3 separate regions of the Homo sapiens genome follow, and regions 1 and 2 are each linked to region 3. The links are contacts of gene promoters, found by promoter capture Hi-C in human tissues and cell types (Jung and others, 2019). All regions are on one chromosome and are shown on one strand. Each heading gives the region's core, a stretch centred on a gene start or on the middle of the fragment in contact. The rest is flanking DNA. Distances are from core to core; before and after follow the strand shown.

Evidence for each region. Contacts are between HindIII fragments. The study calls those that stand out against the background at their distance.
Region 1: a contact is called between a fragment that was not itself captured here and the fragment with the promoter of TCF3 in region 3, in 1 of the 25 tissues and cell types used here (heart left ventricle).
Region 2: a contact is called between the fragment with the promoter of ZNF555 here and the fragment with the promoter of TCF3 in region 3, in 1 of the 25 tissues and cell types used here (small bowel).

What each region holds. Positions count from the first base shown.
Region 1 is chr19:517,625-522,742 of GRCh38, forward strand. TPGS1 (tubulin polyglutamylase complex subunit 1) reads left to right here. Exons shown (of 2, transcript NM_033513.3): 2 at 1,265-2,030. The coding sequence ends at 1,799. Among named protein-coding and RNA genes, the nearest start is that of CDC34, 12 kb to the right of the region's middle. RefSeq lists an enhancer at 834-1,740. The HindIII fragment of the contact is 4,635 bases long and covers 856-5,118 here.
Region 2 is chr19:2,838,524-2,843,494 of GRCh38, forward strand. ZNF555 (zinc finger protein 555) reads left to right here and starts at 2,952. Exons shown (of 4, transcript NM_152791.5): 1 at 2,952-3,052. The coding sequence starts at 3,050. RefSeq lists silencers at 2,413-2,522, 2,533-2,722, 2,943-3,242, 3,283-3,332. The HindIII fragment of the contact is 15,507 bases long and covers 1-4,971 here.
Region 3 is chr19:1,650,895-1,655,339 of GRCh38, forward strand. TCF3 (transcription factor 3) reads right to left here and starts at 1,721. Exons shown (of 19, transcript NM_003200.5): 1 at 1,406-1,721. RefSeq lists silencers at 640-759, 740-962, 770-999, 1,090-1,169, 1,700-1,829 and 1 more and enhancers at 2,180-2,229, 2,350-2,459. The HindIII fragment of the contact is 17,847 bases long and covers 1-4,445 here.

The DNA of each region.
Region 1 (5,118 bases), core at 1,923-4,422, 1.1 Mb before region 3:
AGAAGGGGGGAGACCCAGGCTGGGGGGTGCTGGGAGGACGGAGGCCAGGCTGGGTGGGGGCTGGGAGGGGGGAGGCCAGGCTGGGGGGTGCTGGGAGGAGGAGGCCGAGGCTGGGTAGGGGCTGGGACGGGGGAGGCCAGGCTGGGTGGAGGCGGGGATGAGGGAGACCCAGGTTGGGAGGAGGAGGCCGAGGCTGGGGGTGCTGGTGGGGAGGGGAGGCCCGGGCTGGGCGGTGCTGGGAGGAGGGAGGCCAGGCTGGGTGGGGGCTGGGAGGAGGAGGCCCAGGCTGGGTAGAGGCTGGGAGGAGGGAGATCCAGGTTGGGAGGAGGCCCAGGCTGGGTAGAGGCTGGGAGGAGGGAGATCCAGGTTGGGAGGAGGCCGAGGCTGGGGGTGCTGGTGGGGAGGGGAGGCCCAGGCTGAGGGGGTGCTGGGAGGAGGAAGGCCTGGCTGGGTGGGTGCTGGGAGGAGGGAGCCCCGGGCTGGGGGGTGCTGGGAGGAAGGAGGCCAGGCTGGGTGGGAGCTGGGAGGAGGGAGGCCCAGGCTGGGAGTGCTGGTGGGGTGGGGAGGGGAGGCCCAGGTTGAGTAGGGGCTGGGAAGAGGGAGGCCCCGGCTGGGTAGGGGCTGGGAGGAGGGAGGCCAGGCTGGGTGGGAGCTGGGAGGAGGGGAGGTCCAGGCTGGGTAGGGGCTGGGAGGAGGGAGGCCCAGGCTGGGAGTGCTGGTGGGGTGGGGAGGGGAGGCCCAGGTTGAGTAGGGGCTGGGAAGAGGGAGGCCCGGGCTGGGTAGGGGCTGGGAGGAGGGAGGCCTGGGCTTGGGATACTGGGGGGAGGAGAGGCCAGGGCTGGGAGGGGGCTGAGAGGAGGAGGCCTGGGCTGGAGATGCTGGGGGAGGAGAGGCCCAGGCTGGGGATGCTTGGGGGAGGGAGGCCTGGGCTGGGAGGGGACTGGGAGGAGGGAGGCCTGGGCTGGGGATGCTGGGGGGAGGAGAGGCCCGGGCTGGGGATGCTTGGGGGAGGAGAGGCCCGGGCTGGGGATGCTGCGGGGAGGAGAGGCCCTAGCTGGGAGAAGGGAGGCGGGGGCTCAAGAGAGGAGCTTCAGGGATAGAGGGTGAGGAGGAGGGGAGGCCGGGGATGGGGGGTAGGAGGAGAGGGGAGGCCAGGGCTGGCTGGGGGGTCGGGGAGGCTAGGGCATAGGCCTGGCGAGGAGGGGAGGCTGGGGCTGGGTGGGCGCGCGGTCTCTGCCGGCCCCCAACGTCCCCGTCTCCGCAGGGCCGCCTTCAACAACAACGTGAGCGTGGCCTACGAGTGCCTGAGCGCCGGCGGGCGCAGGAAGAGGCCGGGGCTGGACGGGCGCACCTACAGCGAGCTGCTCAGGCGCATCTGCCGGGACGGCCAAGCCCCCGAGGAGGTGGTGGCGCCGCTGCTGCGCAAGGTGCAGTGCCGTGACCACGAGGCGGTGCCGCTGAGCGTCTTCCGCGCGGGCACACTCACCTGCTTCGTGCTGCTGGAGTTCGTGGCGCGCGCCGGCGCGCTCTTCCAGCTGCTGGAGGACTCGGCCGCCGCCGTGGCCGACCGCCGCGTGGGCCAGGCCGTGCTGGACACCCTGGAGGGCGCGCTGCAGGCCAGCGACGCCGCCGCGCCCGCGCGCTTCCTGGAGGCCGGCTCGCGCTTGGGGCCCGACAGCCTGGCGCTGGCGCTGGACCGCGCCGTCGGGGGGCGGCGGCCCAGCGCGCCCATGACCCGCGAGGAGTTTCTGGAGAGGGCCGCCGCGCTCTTCATCGCGAAGGTCAAGCCGGTGGGCTGAGGCCCGTGGGCCGCGCGGATCCGGGATCTGCGCTGGGGGGTCCCCGCGTGCGGGGCGCGCGGAGCCTTCCCTTCGCCCTGGTGAGGCCCTGCCATAACCAGGCGCCCAGCCCTGCGGAGGAGGCCGGGGCTCCCAGGAAGCGGACGCCCGGTCCCCACACAGCGCCGCGGCCGCCCCTCCACCCCCGCGGGAGCCCCTGCCCCACGCTAATAAAATGTGTTGCGAGGCTGACGCTGGTGTGTATGCGAGCGCCCGCCTCCCAGCCCCGGTGCCCGCAGAAGACGCTTTTCCCCAGCAGGTCACCCACGGCCCCGGAACCGCGGCGACTGGAGGCTGGATTCGAGGCCGGAAACGCCGGGACCCCTGGACCCGGCCTGGTGGGAGCAGCGGAGGGGGACGCCCCACGGGGCCCTGCGGAGCCTGAAGCCGGAGAGCAGGCGGCTCTTCTGGAACGCAGGGCCCGGGCCCTCCAGCCCCGCCCGGCCCAGGTATCCTCCCTGAGCCTCAGTCTCCCCAGATGTCAAATGAAGAGGCCAGCTGGGCAGATGGTAGTGACATTGGTGAGACAACAGCCCTAACACTTCCCAGGAACTGAAGTGCCTCATGTGATTGATTCCCAGGCCCAGGCAGCGGAGGTTACACCCTCAGCAAGGGCTCAGCTGGGATCTGCGCCCGGCCTGCTCCAGAACGCAGCCCACTCGCCACCGGTGGGGAGGGTCGTCCGGTATCCCCCAGTGCCCACCACCACCAACCAGAATCACTTCTCAGACTGCAAGAGCGAATCCAGCCGGGCGTGGTGGCTCACACCTGTAACCCCAGCACTTTGGGAGGCTAAGGCGGCGGATCACTTGAGGTCAGGAGTTCAAGATCAGCCTGACCAACATGGTGAAACCCTGTCTCTACTAAAAATACGAAAAAAAAAAAAAGCTGGGCTGTGGTGGCAGGCGCCTGTAATCCCAGCTACTCAGGAGGCTGAGGCAGGAGAATAACTTGAACCCAGGAGGCAGAAGTGGCAGTGAGCCGAGATTGAGCCACTGCACTCCAATCTGTGCGACAGAGTGAGACCCTGTCTCAAAAACAAAACAACAACAACAAAAAAAAAACAGGCCAGACGCAGTGGCCCACGCCTGTCATCCCAGCACTTTGGGAGGCAGAGGCAGGTGGATAACGAGGTCAGGAGATGGAGACCATCCTGGCTAACATGGTGAAACCTTGTCTCTACTAAAAATACAAAAAATGAGCCGGGCGTGGTGGCGGGCACCTGTAGTCCCAGCTACTCTGGAGGCTGAGGCAGGAGAATGGCGTGCACCGAGGAGGCGGAGCTTGCAGTGAGCCGAGATCGCGCCACTGCACTCCAGCCTGGGTGACAGAGCGAGACTCCGTCTCAAAAAAATAAAAAAATAAAAAGTGAATCCAGAACTCCAGCTCCAGTTGCTGGCAGGTGACTTCACTCCCTTGGCCTCAGTGTCTCCTGTTAAATGGGAGTCCCCACAGCCTGTTCTGGTGGAGGGGGTCCAATCGGACATAGAGAACACTCAAGCCTTGTTTCTCCCCTGCTGTCACCGCCACATCACAGTCATCCACACAGAAAAGACTTCTGTGACCACATGTGGGAGCGTTTTTTCCCACACACCAACCAGCAGACGCCAGCCGGGTGTCCTCTTAATTCAGCTCTGACGCCTTCTACCCAGAGATAGTGTCAGATCCCACAGGCCGAGGGCTCAGTCCCCGAGCCTCTCCCTCTTCAGACACCAGTTGCGAATCTGGGCTTCCAGGACTTCGGTCTGGCCGGGTTCAAGTTGGGGTTCCCAGCACCCCTTTGGGTTCAATTAATTTGCTGGAGCAGCTCACTGAACTCGGAAACACTTGTGTTTCCTGGTTTACTATAAAGGATGTGGCAAAGATAGCAGAAGAAGGGACCACAGGTGAGGTACGTGTAGGGTGGGGATTGGAGTGCCATGAGGATGCACAGGGCACCATCTCAGAGCTTCCAGGCATCTCCACATGTTCAGCTCTTGGAAGCTCCCCAGAACCCAGTTCTCTAGGGTTTCGTGGTTTTTTGTTTGTTTGTTCATTTTTGAGACGGAGTCTTGCTCTGCCACCCAGGCTGGAGTGCAGTGGCGCAATCTCGGCTCACTGCAACCTCCCCCTCCTGAGTTCAAGCGATTCTTCTGGCTCAGCCTCCTGAGTACCTGGGATTACAGGCGCCCACCACCACACCTGGCTAACTTTTGTATTTTTAGTAGAGACGGGGTTTCACCACGTTGGCCAGGCTGGTCTCAAGCTCCTGACCTCAGGTGATCCACCCACCTCAGCCTCCCAAAGTGCTGGGATTACAGGCGTGAGCCACCACACGCGGCCTAGGGATTTTATGGAAGCTTCATGATGTCAGCATTACTTCCCCAGGGGTATAGGGCAGGACCCTCTTTGGGGAGGGTCCCAAGACCCGTAATCGAAAAGGTAAGATTAGAGCTCTGCAGCCCAGAGGAGGGCGGGAGATTATTTCCTGAGGCCTAACGAGCTCAGCAGTGCAGCAAAAGACTGCAACTAGGGCTTCAGGAGCTATGATCCGGGAACTGAGGAAGAAAACTACTCTCTATTCTAACACCACACACGGGAACAGAATTTTATTTTATTTTAATTTTTTGAGACAGAGTCTCGCTCTATCACCCAGGCTGGAGTCCAGTGGCGTGATCTCGGCTTACTGCAAGCTCCGCCTCCTGGGTTCACACCATTCGCCATTCTCCTGCCTCAGCATCCCGAGTAGCTGGGACTACAGGTGCCCACCACCACGCCCAGCTAATTTTTTGCATTTTTAGTAGAGACGGGGTTTCACCGTGTTAGCCAGTATGGTCACGATCTCCTGACCTCATGATCCGCCTGCCTCGGCCTCCCAAAGTGGTGGGATGACAGGCGTGAGCCACCGTGCCTGGCCTTCTTTTTTTTTTTAGACGGAGTCTCGCTCTGTCACCCAAGCTCGAGTGCAGTGGCTCAATCTCGTCTCACTGCAACATCTGCCTCCCAGGTTCAAATAATTCTCCTGTCTCAGCCTCCTGAGTAGCTGGGATCACAGGCACGTGCCACCGTGCCTGGCTAATTTTTGTATTTTTAGTAGAGATGGGGTTTCACCATGTTGGTCAGGCTGGTCTTGAACTCCTGACCTTGTAATCCACACACCTTAGCCTCCCAAAGTGCTGAGATTACAGGCATGAGCCACCGTGTCTGGCCGGGAACAGAATTTTTAAATTTTTACAAGTTCCACGATGGCAGAGACCACTCCTGTCTCCCAGTTTCCCAGCACTGAGCTGGGCTTAGGATA
Region 2 (4,971 bases), core at 1,702-4,201, 1.2 Mb after region 3:
GGGGCTTTCACCATGTTGGCCAGGCTGGTCTCAAACTCCTCACCTCAGGTTGTCCACCCACCTCAGCCTCCCAAAGTGCTGGGATTAGAGGCGTGAGCCACCGAGCCCGGGCACACTATTTTTAACTGGAAGCTGCTTTCCTATGTCAGTCCTCTAAACATTAATTTTTATAAAAGTGTGTAAAACCTTCCTAGGAAAGATAAAAATAAATTTTAAAAATTGTTTCTAAATGAAATGTCAATATCAGAATTTGAACAACCACTTAAGCTATGGAGTTTTCTGAAATGAATAACCATTAACTGTGTTTGGTTTTCAGCCCCTGTCTATTAAGTGTATTCAGTGTTTTCAGGCCTATCACAATCGTTTTTCCTTTTTTTAAAAAAAATTGAAGGCTGGGTGTGGTGGCTCACACCTGTAATCCAAGCACTTTGCAAGTCCGAGGCAGGTGGATCACCTGAGGTCAAGAGTTTGAGACCAGCCTGGCCAACATGGTGAAACCTCATCTCTACTAAAAAAATAAAAATTAGTAGGCCAGGCGTGGTGGCTCACACCTGTAATCCCAGCACTTTGGGAGGCCGAGGCGGGTGGATCACATAAGGTTGGGAGTTCGAGACCAGCCCGACCACCACGGAGAAACCCCGTCTCTACTAAAAATACAAAATTAGCCAGGCATGATGGCAGGTGCCTGTAGTCCCAGCTACTCGGGAAGCTGAACCAGGAGAATCGCTTGAACCTGGGAGGCAGAGGTTGCAGTGAGCCGAGATCTCGCCATTGCACTCCAGCCTGGGCAACAAGAGCGAAACTGCGTCTCAAAAAAACAAAAAACAAAAAAATTAGCTGGGTGTGGCGGGGCAGGTCTGTAGTCTCACCTACTCGGAAGGCTGAGGTACGATAATCACTTGAACCCGGGAGGTGGAGTTTACAGTGAGTCGGGATCCTGCCATTGCACTCCAGCCTGGGTGACAGAGCAAGACTGAAAAAACCAAAAATTTAAAAAAAAAACACTTCCCTCCTAAGGTTCAATCCAATTCATTTAAACTTTTGCGTGTTTTTCTTATATCAGTTAAAATAGGGATTCAATATCCTTAGAAATATAGCCTTTTCTGTTTTAAATATAACATCTAAAAATTGTAGTAAAATACAAATAACAAATATTTACCATGTTCATCATTTTTAAGTCTAAAGTTCAGTGGCGTTAGATACGTTCCTGTTGTGCAATATTATAGACTTCCTTTTTTTTTTTTTTTTTTTTTTGAGACGGAGTCTTGCTGTGTCCCCCAGGCTGGAGTGCAGTGGAATGATCTTGACTCACTGCAACCTCTGCCTCCCTGGGTTCAAGCGATTCTTTTTGTTTTTGTTGTTGTTGTTTGTTTGTTTGTTTGTTTTTGAGACGGAGTCTCGCTTTGTCACCCAGGCTGGAGTGGTGGAGTGCAGTGGCGCGATCTCGGCTCACTGCAACCTCTGCCTCCCGGGTTCACGCCATTCTCCCGCCTCAGCCTCCCGAGTAGCTGGGACTACAGGCACCCGCCACCAGGCCTGGCTAATTTTTTTGTATTTTTTAGTAGAGACGGGGTTTCACCGTGTTAGCCAGGATGGTCTCGATCTCCTGACCTCGTGATCCGCCCGCCTCGGCCTCCCAAAGTGCTGGGATTACAGGCGTGAGCCACCGTGCCCGGCCTCAAGCGATTCTCTTGCCTCAGCCTCCCTAGCTGGGATTACAGGTGCGCGCCACCACGCCCGGCTAATTTTGTATTTTTAGTAGAGACAGGGTTTTGCCATGTTGGGCAGGCTGGTCTTGAACTCCTGACCTCAGGTGATCCGCCCGCCTCGGCCTCCCAAAGTGCTGGGATTACAGGCGTGAGCCACAGCGCCCGGCCAGCTTTTCAATCTTCCAAATTTTGGGGGGATGTACTTAAAAAAATGATCTGAAAACATTTTCCTTAGAGTTTAAAATATGAACTTGAGAGTTTTTTTGTTTTTTAATATGGAGTCTCACTCTGTCGCCCAGGCTAGACTGCAGTGGGGCGATCTCGGGTCACTACAACCTCCACCTCTCGGGTTCAAGCAATTCTCCTGCCCCAGCATCCCCAGTAGCTGAGATTACAGGCGCCCGGCACCACGCCGGGCTGATTTCTGTATTTTTAGTAGAGAAAGGGTTTCACCATATTGGCCACGATGGTCTCAAACTCCTGAACTCAGATGATCCGTCCACCTCGGTCTCCCAAAGTGCTGGGATTACAGGCGTGAGCCACTGCGCCCAGCCAAATGTGAGGGTTTTAATGAACATCTCATATCTTCTGGTTGATTTGAGCAAAGCTCCTGCCCCCTGCCAGGCTTTGGGTTCGGCCTCCCCCAGACCGGGTCTCCGGATTCGCAGCCCCCTGGGCGGGGTCTCCATGTCGCCCGCAGCGCGATGACGTCACGTCTGCGGGTCCCGCCCCCACGTAGGTCTCGGCCCTTCGGACCCGGCGCCCAGCCCCCGTTCGCCCTGCCAGGCCCGGGCCGCCCGCTTGCATCCACCTCCTGTCCGGACAAGGGGTCGCCTCGTGAGGAAACTAGTCTGGAGTTCCCACGCCCGTCCCGGAGGAGGACGCGGGCGGGGCGCCCGAACTGCGGGGAGAGGGCGATTCCGCCCCGGGCTGAAACCAGTTCGCCCAGAAGCCAGTGTCCCCGCAGGGCGGGACAGCCACGCGTGTTCGCAACGCTCCCGTCACTCACCGGCAGGGGGTGGGCCCTAGGGAACTACCCAGTCAGGACGGGCGGGGGCGGGGCCGAGACAAGTATCCAATGAGGGACGCCCAATCGGAATCCGGGGAACTGCCCAATTTACAGCGCCAGGGGACGGACTGGGGAATTCTCCAATCAGAGTCGCCGACGTTGGCAGCACTGTCCAATCAGAAGCGCGGCTTCCCGAGCTCTGTCTAATCAGGCCCCTGGGACGGGACGCCTCTGTCCTAGCCGTGAGTGCCCCGCCTGCCCCTAGCGGTCCCTGGCGTCCCGGTTCCTGTCGCGCTCACCTGCGCCGGTAGCGAAGAAATCGCCCCGGGACATGGTGAGTGTGGCGCAGGAGAGGATCCCGGTGCGGGGCAGCAGGAACCGGCGACCGCCCGAGACCGCGGCTTGGGGGGAGCTGAGGGACGCGGGGGGCGGCCCCGGCGAGGGCGGCGCAGGACGGGAGCCTGGGCCCCGGGGGTCCCGCCCGGCCCCGCCTCCCGCGCTGAGGTCGCGGCTAGGGCGCTCCGAGCTCCGGGTCCCCGCCCGCCTCTGGCCCCAAGGCTGCAGAGCGGGGAGCGGCGCCCGGAGCCCGACTCCGTCCCCGTCGTCCCGGGGTCCCCGCGTCCCTGCGCTCCCGACCCCCCACGCCCCGCCCGGGGCCGCGACGCCTCGGAGCGTTTCGCTGCGGCTTCGGGACCCCCGGGCCGCGGGAGGCAGAGTCGCCCGAGACCCCGAGGTGCGGTCCAGGCTCCCCCGGGACCCGCCCTGGGGCCGACGCCGCGGTGCCTCCTGGGGTGCGGGTCCCTGGTCGGTGCCGCCTCCGCTCGCGCTCCCGCGGCTCAGCTCCTTGGAGGCCCCGCGCCTCCGGCCGCGGTCTCTGGGGGACCCTGGGTTCCTCCCGGGACAGCCCGGGAGCGGTGGGGCCTCGGCGGGGGCGGAGACGCCCCCACCTGCAAAGGCAGCCCCTGGGGCGTGCGAGGTTTCCTCCCCTGAGTCCCGGTTTTCCTTCTTGAGGACTTCTTGTCCCCTCTGACCCCAAGATGCCTGGGGTAGGTAAGGGGAAAAAAAACAAGGGTTCCTGGTCCCTGGGCTCTCACACACAAGGAAGAAAAGTAACTGAAAAGACTAGAGAAACAAGGGAGAGCGAGGACCCCAAAAGCAAACGCACGCAGACCCACAGCGGGGACGCCCGGGAGGCTGGTGCATTAGTGTCCTCGGACTGCTGTAGCAACTGACTGCAAACGAGGGGGCTAAAACCACGGAAATATATTCTTTCACGGTTCCCTAGAAAGTGTGGATTTGAAGACGTTTCTCAGTTCTGTTTTGAGTACTAGCAATGGGATTCCTTGCTGAGGCAACACCTGAGTTGGGGGTGGGAGGGCGTCCGTCGTGGTAGCCTGGCCAGACTTGACCCCTCCCTGGGTTTGTCACTGTGAAAAGATTTTCCTTTTTTCGAGTCAGCAGTTTTTAGGAAGTGAAACGTACATTTAATTAGTAGAAGTTGGAAGATAAAATATTTCCAGGCCGGGCGCGGTGGCTCAAGCCTGTCATCCCAGCACTGTGACAGGCCGAGGGGAGCAGATTACTTGAGGTCAGGAGTTGGGGACCAGCCTGGCCAACATGGAGAAACCCCGTCTCTGCTAGAAATACAAAAATTAGCTGGGCGTGGTGGCGGGTGCCTGTAGTCCCAGCTACTCGGGAGGCTGAGGCGGGAAAATCACTTGAACGCAGAAGGCGGAGGTTGCGGTGAGCTGAGAACGCGCCATTGCACTCCAGCCTGGGTGACAGAGCGAGACTCCGTCTCAAAAAAAAAAAAAAACTTCCAACGGGGTGAATTTCAGGAAAAAAATTAAAATCTGTGTCTTACATTCCATTTGTTAAACATTCCCTGGAGTGTGTGTCGTTTCTCAGATCTGTTATTTTCTGTTTTCTTTTATTACTATTATTTTTTTGGGAGCTCTGTTGCCCATGCTGGAGTGCACTGGTGCGATCACAGCTCACTGCAGCCTCCACCTCCTGGGCTCAAGCAATCTTCCTGCCTCAGCCTTCTGAACACAGGGACTCCAGGTGTGTGCCGCCATGCCTAAGCTTTTGTATTTTTTTGTTTCTAGGGATGGGGTCTCATTCTGTTACCCAGGCTGGTCTCGAACTCCTGAGCTCAGGTGATTCTCCCTCCTCGACCAGCCTTGTTCTTTTCTTTTGAATGACAATAAATAGGATTCCAGGGCCTAAACTTCAAAATGTTACTGGGGAGAA
Region 3 (4,445 bases), core at 471-2,970:
GGGACCAGCAAAGCTTTCCTCCACCCTCAATCTCCCTCCCCCCAAGAAAACCCCAACAGTATTCAGGAAAGAAAAAAAAAACAGCCCTAGATTGCTTTACTGTCGCGATGTATCCGGGAATTATTTTTAAGCAAAACTTTGACAACATCCCTTGCCTGCCCTCCATGAGCGGGGAGAGCGTCTCAAGACCAGGGTGCTCCCGCGTGGTCCCAGGGGGCTCCATTCTAAGATGGGGGATGGGGGATCCACCTGCCAAGACCCATTCCACCCCCAGAAAAAGGTACAGAGAAAAATTTCCATTCCAAAGAAATGCACTCCAGGCCCCTCCAGTCTCGACTTTCCCCAGGGGTCCCCAGGTGGGGACGGGGGCAGCCCGGGAGACACCTCCGAGGCTGGGGGTGGGGAGGAGCCTCCGAGGTCGAGGGAGACCCAACTTCAGAAGCAGAGAAATCCCCTCTTTGTCTGCCAACTGGAGGCCGGGTGTGAAGCGGGCGCCCCAGCGCAGCCCCTCCCCCGCTCAGTTTTTTTCTTTTTTGGAGGGCGTGTGAAACTGACTTTTTTTGAGGACTACGAAACCGCACTTTTTTGTGGGGTAGCTGAAACCGATTTTAAGACAGACTTAGTTGGGGGGGTGGCGAGCTAAAACGGGCATTCTACGGGAGCTGGAAGACTTCTGGGGCGTCCCAAGGACTTTGAGAGACTTGGAGAATGTTTGAAGCCACTTTGCACGGCGCCGAAGGCGGGGGGCGCGCTGGAACGCCTTTTTCCCGGGGGGAGGCGGCCCGGGAAGCCGGACCCCCCTCCCCCCGCAGCCGGTGCAGGCGGTGCGGCCCGGGAGCCTTTGAAGCTCGCAGCGCGGCCGCCGCCTCGCCCCGCATTAACGCGGAGCAGATGTTACCCGCGCGCCCCCCCCCGGCCCGCCCGGCCCCGACCAGCGCCTGCAGCGCGCGGCACCTTCCCCGCGCAGACAAAAGGACGTCCCTCCCGCGCGCTCCCCACCCCAAACTCCGGCGCCCGGGCCGGGCCCCCCTCTACCCGAGAAAGGGGGCGCCCCGGGGTCCCCGTGCGCCCGGGCTGGGGGGGACGGTCCTCGCGCCTAAGTTGCACAGCCCGTCCGGCGCCCCCCGCGCCCCCGCCCGGGGCTGCTTAAAGTTTCCCGAAGTGCCCGGCCCGACGGGGGCGACGCGGGCCTGGCGAGCTCCGGGCTCCTCCACGTCGCCGCCCCCCCGGCGCCGCGCGAAGTTGGAGAACAATGACTCCCGGGCCGCGGGGCGCCCCCCGACACCGCCCCCGCCCCAACTTCCTCCGCGCCCCCCCCCAACAAGCGCGCGCGGGGCGGGCCGGGGTTCCCTGGGCACAAAGCACGGGGGTACCGGGCGCGCCCCCCGCCCCCCGCCGGGCTCACCTGCTGGGCGCGGCCGGGCACGCGGCGCGTGGGGGGGGGCGGCGGCATGAAGCGGGGGGGCCCCCCCCCGGACAAAGGTGCGTCGCGGCCGGGCCCCCGAGGGTCGCGCGTGGGCGGCGGCGGCGGCGCGCGTGGCCCGGGCCCCTCCCACCCCCGCGTGGCCCGTCCCGCGGGGCCCGTGCGCGCGGCCGGCCGGGGCGCCCCTGGGGCAGCGGCGTGCGCGGTGCCCGCGGTGCCCGCCGCCGCGTCGGCTCCGGCCCGCTACGCCCGCAGCCGCCGCCGCTGCCTCATCTTCCTGCGGCGGGAGACATGTTCCGCCCCCCGCCCGCGCCGCCCCGCCCCGCCCCGTGCAGGCCCCGCCCCTGCCCCGCCCCCGAGTGCCCCGCCCGGCGGCCCACGCGGATCCCTCCGCCACCTCCGGGCGGCTCGGGCCCGAACGCCCTAGCTCGGCCTCTCGAGCACCCTCGTGAGGACCCCGAATCCCGTGAGGTCCAGAGCCTGGGAGCGGGGACGCGCAGAGGAGGCGGTCGGGCCACGGCGCGGGGAGAAATCACGGACTATCCCCGTCCGCGGAAGCACACACGAGCTGTGCGCTTAGTCCATGACGCAAGCGAGTAAGGCCCGTGAGATTGAAAGCTAAGGCAGAGCAGTCTGGTCAATCGGAAGCCGCGAAAGTCTGATGGGCGGGGATCCTAGCCATTCGTGGTGAGGCCCCGCCTCCTTTCTTCTCGGCCCCGCCCCTCAGCAGAGGCGGGACTCTGCGAGCGAGAGGCCGCGAGAGGCGGCCGGGGTGGGTCCTGGAGTTTTGTTCTCAGGTTGGCGTGGCCGCCCGCGCGGAGCCTTCTGCTTGGTTATATTTGCGTTCCTCGGGCCGGCCCCGCGTGCTGAGTGGTGCGAGCGGGTATCACGGCCCCGAGGGGGCTACGTCAGACCCATTTTCCCGGCGGGAAAACCGACTCTGGCTCCGGCTCTGGGTCAGAGAGCCCCGCGGGGAGTCTCAGCGGTGCCTTTGCCGACTTGAGTCTCCGTCTCGGCATCTGTGAATTTGGACCTGACTTTGGACAGAACTCAGGCCAGATCTGGCTTCCTGATTCTTAGTAGTCCGTGTCTACATTTTAGTAAAAAGTGACCCCGCCTAGGATCGGGCGCCGTGGCTCCTGCCTGTGATCCCAGCGCTTTGAAGGAGGCCGAGGCGGGAAGATCGCTTGAGGCCAGGAGTTCGAGAACAGCCTGAACAACATAGTGAAACCCCCCCCACCCACACCCGTCTCTAAAAATATTTAAAATAATTTAAAATAATAATTTAAAAAGTTGACCGGACGCGGTGGCCCACGCTTGTATTCCCAGCACTTTGGGAGGCCAAGGCGGGCAGATCACCTGAAGTCAGGAGTTCGAGACCTCTCTGGCCAACACGGTGAAACCCCATCTCTACTAAAAATACAAAAATTAGCCGGGCATGGTGGCGGGCACCTGTAGTCCTAGCTACTCGGGAGGCTGAGGCAGCAGAATCGCTTTCACCCGAAAGGCGGAGGTTGCAATGAGCCGAGAGCACGCCATTGTACTCCAGCCTGGGCAACAAGGACGAAACTCCGTCTCAAAATAAATAAATAAATAAGTAAAATAAAATAAAAATACAAAAATTAGCTGGGCGTGGTGGCATACACCTATAATCTCAGCTACTCGGGAAGCTGAGGCAGGAGAATCGCTTAAACCCAGGAGGCAGAGGTTGCAGTGAGCAGAGATCGCAGCACTGCACTCCAGGCTGGGCGACAGAACGAGGCTCCGTCTCAAAAAAAAAAGTAAAATAACTAAACAAATAAATGAAAATAACACAATCTCCCAGGGCTCCCTGGGGCCCCAAAGGGAAATTTACACTCCACTCCCAGCCTGGGAAGATGCCACCATCTCGCTGGCCCGCTTGGCTCCAGCCATCCTGCCCTCTGGATGGTCCAGAACTTGCTAAGCTCATCCCCACCCCGGGCCTCTACGTTTGCTTTGTCCTCTACCTGGGAGGCTTTTCCCACCCCTATCTGGAGCCCCTGAGTCATCACAGTTCAATGCTGCACCTATGCCAGGCCGGCGGGGAGGCGGGGCCACAGGGGCCCCCCACCAAAGCCACAAGCCCCTCCTGCTATACACCCAAACTGGGCTGTCCACAGTCCGACCCTCCGTGCCCAGAGAGTTCCACGTGCCGCAGGTCTGGGGAGAGGGCTGTGGGTCCCAGGGTCTGTGCTGCAAATCCCTCATCCCTCTCCACCTCACTGTGACCTCAGGCAAGTTCGTGCTACTCTCCGGGCCTCGGTTTCTCCATCTGGACAGTGGAAGGGGGGAGTCTGGCACACAGTAGGTGCTCACAGCTGATGCCTGCCTTCCTCAGCCGCCCCCCACCCCCGCAGAGGCCTCTCCGGAGCCAGGGTCTCCAAGCAGCTCCAATCCCACCCCAGCCTCCTCAGCCCCCGGCCCTTCCTTGTGGCCCAGCCCTGACCCCATGGGTCTGAGGGTGTCTGTGGCCGGGTCTGGCTCTCCCCATTCCAGTGTAGGGAGCTCACTGTGGGCCACTCCCCACCCACACTCAGGGTCCAAGCCATAGTGTGGCAGCCGGAGTCCTCCCGAGGAGCCCTTCAGTTTCACCCACGGAAGGGAAGCAACCATCCAATCACGGACTTCTTCTTCTTCTTCTTCTTCTTCTTCTTCTTCTTATTATTATTATTATTATTTTGAGAAAGAGTCTCGCTCTGTTGCCCAGGCTGGAGTGCAGTGGTGAGATCACAGCTCACTGCAGCCTTGACCTCCTGGGCTCAAACGATCCTCCCGCCTCAGTTTCCCGAGTAGCTGGGACCACAGGCACGCGCCACCACACCCAGCTAATTTTGTATTTTTTGTAGAGACGGGGTTCTCCCTATGTTGCCCAGGCTGGTCTTGAACTCCTAGGCACAAGTGATCCTCCCGCCTTGGCTTCCCAGAGTGCTGGGATTACAGGCGTGTGCCACTGCGCCGTACAAGACTATTCAATTATCGGGCACTGACAGCGAACGGGGCC